2 separate regions of the Homo sapiens genome follow, and region 2 is linked to region 1. Evidence: promoter capture Hi-C in human tissues and cell types (Jung and others, 2019). All regions are on one chromosome and are shown on one strand. Each heading gives the region's core, a stretch centred on a gene start or on the middle of the fragment in contact. The rest is flanking DNA. Distances are from core to core; before and after follow the strand shown.

Region 1 (3,580 bases), core at 1,032-3,531:
TTCCCGCTGGAAGGCTGTAACCCTGGAGAGGATGTTGAAAAGAAAACACTTTCTTAAGGGGGTAGGCTTTCACCATTGTGACATTACACTGCATCTTATTAAGAGTGGGTGGAATTGTTAAAGAGATAAATGCCTTGTCTTTCAGCATCCCTGATTATTTTAGAAATATCCTTATAGGGCTTTCTAACATTATCCTAATCCTCTATCACACTGCTTAATCATCCAAACCTCTCTTAAGAATTAGTCAGGAAATTCCTATTGTAACGCTTTGAGCAGATATTAGCAGGTATAGACAGGTTACCCTGAATTCCAGAGGACCAAAATTCAGGGAAGACAATGTATATAACTGCTGTAAGAGTAAATATGGACAAGATGAGTCAAAGCAAACTCTTCTTAACCCTAGATACCCAAAGCCATTGGATTCTGGCTCTCTTTAAAAGCCATTGGATTCTGACTATCTTTACTATGTCAGCATAGTTTGTTAAGAAAATGAGATTTGAGGATATTGTCTAACAATCTGGCTTTTTTTTTTTTTTTTGAGACAAGTTTGTTACTTGTGACAATCCCCAGCTTTCAGTAGCACATGAGTTTTTTTGAGTTTTCATAGATGTAAGAAGTTACCCCAAGGAACGGTTCAAATTATTTGTTCAAGTGAAAATGAATATCTGAAATTAAGCACAACCCAAAATGTGATCTATTTCTTTGTCCACTTGGGACTGTCTGGTCTAGCAGCAGTTATAATTTGATTGAGCCTTGACTGCTGCTCCTTTTTCCAAGACAGAATTAGCCAATTCCAATACCCTGTAAGCAGACACAGTCTGAGAAGAGAACAAACAGTTACTTAGTGACTGCCTGGGGGAAAAAAAATACCACTTGGTTCTCTTCACCTCTCCCTCTCTGAAATAATCCACTAAGTTTCTTGCCTATGACAGCTAGAACATGAAACAATCAGATATTAGAGCTACAGCCAATACTCTTTTTCACATTTCACAATGGGTTGTCAGATGCAGCACACAAAAAAATGTCAAATTTGCATAAATATCATAAGCATGTTGTGCCTATTTTCTCATTCTGTTCACTCTTTCTCATTAATTTGAGTGAGACAGTACAAGCTCTACAGACTGTGCGTCTTGTCCCCTGCACCTTTTTCCCCCTTCTGTTCTTGCTCTGTCCCCAGATGGTAAAATCCACCCTCAGGCTCACGTCTAGTGCACACAGGGAAGGGACTAAATCGGGATCTCCTGTGGAGGGGAGGGTTTTTTTTTTTAAGGTAAGAATTTATTTGTCTTATATTTATCTAATTTTATTAGAAGATGATGACTGTGGCATCGTCTACATGTTAGCCCCAGTGTTGAAAAAGAAAAGAAATCTGGACCTCCTGATTCATGGTCCCTTTTACCCCAGGGTGGCCATTTCTCAAGATCTGAGCGCAGCCCATCAGAAGACTTGAAGTGACCACAGACAGGGCAGGTCTTGGTGGAGGCAGGAGAACCGCAAGGATGGTATCTGAGAGGATATGACAAGATCAGGGCACATTGAGAAGACCTAGAAATTCCTCCCCTATTTCCCAAGCAAGTTCTGCTTTGCCTGCCCTCCTCCCCACAACCAACTACTGCGCGCCCCTCCTGGCTGCCACTCTGCTGTCCCTCATCCCATTTTCCCAAAGGAGCACGGGGACATCAGGAATGCGCTCCATCACAGAACCGCGACACACAGCCTCTACATAGCGTCTGAGTTGCAGGCAGGGGTCTCACAATCACCCTATTCTGTACGCAAGAGGCCCTTGGAATAAAGAGGAGGTAAGCTGCCCACGCTCAACCCTTTGCCCTGTCGCGTCCTCTTCCTCCTACGGAAAATAGCTGCGGGTCACTGAGACGCTTTTCAACATAACGCCAGCCCCAGAGCTCAGGTGAGACCTCTAGAGAGAAAGCTCGCAGGTACCTCATCCGCATGCTGTTATTATCTGCCAGCCCACTTATCCAGGAGCTCGGTCCTCAGCGGGCTGCGCGCACCGCGCGGAAGGGCGCATCTTCACCTCGTGGCTCTGGCGGCAGAGACGCGCGGGGCTTGCTCGGGAGCGAGGAGCGAAAAGTTGTGCGCCCACTTGGGTAGGGGGAAAGAGAGCGATCGAGCCAGCGCGGGAGAGCGAAGGGGGAAGGCGGGGAGGGGGCGGGGAGGGGGGACTGCTTACATGAATTTCCAAGTGGTAGACCTGCCTCTGCGCTCTGCCCAATGAGATCCGTCAGGGGAGGCACCCGGCTCACTTTTCCACATCACTTCACAGTTACATTTGGCAGGCAGGCGGGCTCGCACGCCGGAGCGCTCAGCCCAGAATTAGTGGATTTATTTGGAATCTCCCTGCCTCCTCCAAGCTCCGCCGCCGCCGCCGGCTTGTGCATAGACGGTAGCGTCAAGACACCAGCTGCACTTTGGGTTGCGGACACCCAGAGCCCAGCGCGCCCGCCCTGCGTCTCCGCACCAAGCCCTGTAGCTCCGAGAGGCATGAACGGAATCCGGAGGCGCCTGCCTAGCGAGCGAGGACCGGTCGGCGCTTGCCGCCCTCGGGAGCTAACCCCGAGCACCTCCAGCCATTTGTGAACCTGGAGGCTTGACATTCGCCAGCGCAGGGCCCCACAAGAGTAAGTGTTCCCCTAACCCACCCCCGTTTTCCTCTATGTTCCGACTATCCAGAAGGGACCGTTTCTTATAGGAATTCCCATGCCCCTTCGGACACCTTGCGCGCCTCCTGCCCCTCAGATGGTGGATGAGGGTTCTTAGCATAGGCTCTGGGCTAAGCTGTGTCTTTCGCGATATCCGTGGGTGATAACGTACGTACGCCTCAAGGTTTTGCCTGACTGTTTTTGCAAACTGCTTTGACAACAGATCCTAGAGAGTAGCAAGCTCCAGGCTGTGCCCCTCCAGTTTTCCTGCCGGTTTCCTTCCCTGCGGCGACTTGGCTATTTCGCCGCTTCCCAACGCAGGCAGGCGCGGCTGCAGCCGCGCGCCTTCACTGCGGGGTCCGTGCGGTGAATGGGAAGCACCTGCAGCCCGCTGTGCGGAGGGTGCAAGCCAGGGAAAAAAGGAGGCGAGGGGGCCCGAGTGGTCTATGGCTGGTTTTCTGCACCGCCTCATCTCCGAGGCGAGGGAGGGCGACCCCCGCGGCAGGGCTGCGGGCCAAGGCTCAGCTGCGAAAGCCCCAGCGCGAGGCTTTCCCACAAGTGGCAGCTCCAGCTCTGGGAGGTGCGGTGCCCGCTACAAACTTGCCGGGCTCCGGAGTCGCCCTGCGGCTCTGCCCTCGCCAAGACGCTGCCCAGCACCCCTGCAGGACCCCCAGGCAGTGTCTCCCCGCAACTCGAGATTGCGTGCACGGAGGCCCCCTTAAGCCGGGGACTCCGTAGCCGCTCTCCTAGGGACAGCTGAGCCCAGACCTGCGCTTTCTGTGGTCTGGCCGCTTCTCATCCGGGAACCTTTGAGGGGCTGGTCGCGCCCCTCGCAGGATCGGAGGGAAAAAGGCTCTTGCCTAGGTTCTGCCAGTACGTAAGAGGTTCATAAGGGACCTACTCCGGTTCTCCCAGGATCC
Region 2 (3,248 bases), core at 614-3,113, 740 kb after region 1:
TTATAAGAGCAAATTAAATATATATTATCTCAAACTAAATGAAAAGCCAGAGAAGGAACAAATGTCACCTCTTCATTTGCAAAATGTGGGTACATATATCTATAAAATGGGCTAAATATAAATTTGTAATAAACAATAGCACCTAAAAATACCTGTGGTCCTCAAAAGGAAGCATCAGTGGAATATACCGTTGTTTTGAGAATAACCATGATACAGCAATTTGTCAGTAACATAATTAAATCACATGCAAAGCCAGAGACAACAGAGAAGTAATTACAATCCTAACATAATGGAGTCATTACTCTCATATCTAAACACACTTTAAAGAAATTAGGCAGTTTCTGACACACTCATAACAGAAAACTCAAAAGAAGAAACATCACAGAATGAATTAGACCAGAATAACTTTTTTCTACAACTCCATGACATTTAGCTTTTTATAGCTGTATTTGCTATGAAAATGTTTGTATTCAAATGTATAGGTTGCTAATTTGCAAGCTATAGAAAGAGAACTTTTTTTTTCTATTTTTGTATCTCTAATTTCTAGCATACAGTAGATGCCCAATAAATATCTGTTCAGTAAATGTATTATGGGGATATGTTTTTATTGAGATAAAACAATATAAGTTGTAAATAGTTCTTGAGAATAAGCATGAATTATAGGCTAATGGGTTTTAAAACTTTCAACAATTCCCTATTGCTTATTAAGTGAAGTCTGTGAAAGGATGTCTTGTGACTAGAGATGTATTTTAAGGAGAGTACACTAGTTCCAATGTGCAAAATGAATGACGAGAATGACAGTCTGAGCTACAGTGACCACTGACGAGTCTATTAGAATACCACAGCTGAAATGTATTGCAGGCCCGAATTACAGCAGTGATGGTGGAATAAGAATGATATCATTAAGGTAGAATAGGTAGGACTTGGCTACTGATTAAACATAGTAATGTTATAGACGGTGAGTCTGTTTTTGAGCTCCAGTGATCCTGAGGCTCTTGGGCCATTAAAGAAAAATGGAAGCAGAAGGAAAGTTAAGAATAGTTCTGGGGAGATAAAATTCTTTTTATTCTCGACATATATTCTGAATGACTTCTAGGCATTGCATATATATGCCTTGTTAATGCATGGTGCTATATTCCTTAAATAAAAATGATGTAATTTTGACTAATTTTCTTTTATTTTATCTGCAGTGAAGGCTGAGAATAATTATTTAGCTTCCATCTTATCCTCTCAAAAGTGTTTTCAAGTCAGCCCTTAATATTCTTTTCAGGTATTGTGTTACAAGATTTTGGGGCATAGAAGTGGTCACTTACATCTTGTTCACAGAATGCCATTATCACAGTTAATTCATAAACCCAGACCCTCTTTCAGATAGACACTTATGCAACTCTTCTTGAAAATCTTCATTTTATTCATTTGAGATGGAGGTGGGGGTGGGGGGACAGTGCAATACTGTCTATTGGATCTTCTCAGACTCAAATCATCCCTTCCTCACATAAGCTATTACTTTCCTAATTAAGGCAATACCACCTATCATATTCCCCTCTCTCAAAGCCCTTGCCACAATTGATAATTAAATTCTACATATATAATAATTCCAGTAAAGTATTTCTCCACCAGACTGTACCTTCATGAGATCATATCTGTTTTCACTCAATATTATATTTATGTTGCCCAGTGTAAGCACTGGCAAATAAAAAATGCCCAATAAATATGCAATGAATGAGTGAGAGAGGCTGGAAAATTAATCTCACTGTGGAAGAAAATTCTGAATCTGAAATACATGATTCTACTGTTCCATTTAACTCTAGGAAACTGATTTGTTTCCCTATCAGAATGTTTTGGGAAATTCAGTTTTCAGAATCAGGCTTTTGAATGAGAAAAATGTATATTACAGGAATCTCATACCCACACACACACACAGACACACACATACACACACACACACGCACACTATTTCAATAATAATATGACCTTAGAGGAAACAATATAAAACAGATAAAGAAAGGCTTTAAACATCTTAACTTCTTAACTGTGTCTTAGATCTGTTGGCAAGCTTCACAGGAATATGGAATAAATTGTTGATCTACTTATATGCATGAGATAGTTTGTTACAAACATTTATTTTTAGAGATTGTTATTTTCTAACTGCACAATAAATTACTGCTATTTGCATAATAGAATTGTTTGCTTCTTTGGTTTTCTATTCAGATTGCGATTTATTAATATTTAGTCATACTTGAGATGGATACTTTGTCATTCCATATGTTAAGTGTAAAGTATATATTCCTATTATACATTTCATTTTTCATTATTCCCAGGCAATAGATAACACATTATGCCTCTGTCCTTCAGAAAATTTTGAGGCTGGAGCTTAAATGCAAAAGTCAATAAAACAGTTCTGGAAATCTGGGTTGAAAAAATACGTGTCCTTCATAGCTTCAATGTGGCCCCTATGCAATATCTGACATAGCTAATAAATGTTTAATGGATAGACCTTCAATGAGAGGCCAAGAAATAAAAGTTACTTTTAATTTCAAGCATCTTTATAAGATTAGTAGAATAAGTACCTTATTTAACATTTTTACTGGTAAATTTACATAACTATTTTATGCTCAGTAAAGGGGTATTATTTAATGCATTTATTTAATTGAAATTAGGAAATTTTTAAGTCTTGAATTTTCTAGACACTGTGTTGAGCACAAAACTTTTTTGGAATTTAGAATTATTGTGGTTTATAGTCCCAAACTTAAGTGGATGAACATGAAAATCTCTTACTTTGAGTTCTGTGGCTTTCGCATCATTTTTTTCTCATTTTTTCTGCAAACCAAAATAATAACAAAAAAATGGAAAAGAACTTTGATACACTTAAGTATTCTTTTCAAGAAAACATGTAGATTGAAAAAGTATATCTTCAAGTGTATTCTTGCTTATATTAAATGGTGACACATATATATTGGATGCTAAACTGCAAAAAGTCTATAGAATTTCTTAGAACGCTAGAGTGAAAATCAACTGCAAGTCTTCAGAAAGAAAAGAATATTTATCAGGCTCCTCTGAAGGCTGGCAGCTCCTTCATCAAGGGATTTCTTTAGATGTTGGACAGAGTCAACACTGTTATGTAGGCCACCGTAAGTCTCAGCAGGGAACAGGAAGAACATTAAATCTCTGTTTCGCTTCTATTGGTATTTCTCCTCTTGATTCCAGGGTCCTCCACTATAAAATTTGGCTGTTATGGTTCCAGGTGT

Evidence for each region. The method cuts DNA at HindIII sites, captures the fragments that hold promoters and counts their contacts. A contact is called where the count stands out against the background at its distance.
Region 2: a fragment that was not itself captured here is called in contact with the fragment with the promoter of CDH8 in region 1 in 1 of the 25 tissues and cell types used here (lymphoblastoid cells).

Annotation. Positions count from the first base shown.
Region 1 is chr16:62,035,139-62,038,718 of GRCh38, reverse strand. It overlaps CDH8 (cadherin 8), which reads left to right and starts at 2,281. Exons shown (of 12, transcript NM_001796.5): 1 at 2,281-2,639. It overlaps LOC124903777 (a long non-coding RNA gene), which reads right to left and starts at 2,129. Exons shown (of 2, transcript XR_007065217.1): 1 at 1,942-2,129; 2 at 1,286-1,506. The HindIII fragment of the contact is 11,196 bases long and covers 1-3,580 here.
Region 2 is chr16:61,290,561-61,293,808 of GRCh38, reverse strand. No RefSeq gene overlaps it. Among named protein-coding and RNA genes, the nearest start is that of CDH8-AS1, 630 kb to the left of the region's middle. The HindIII fragment of the contact is 7,798 bases long and covers 1-3,248 here.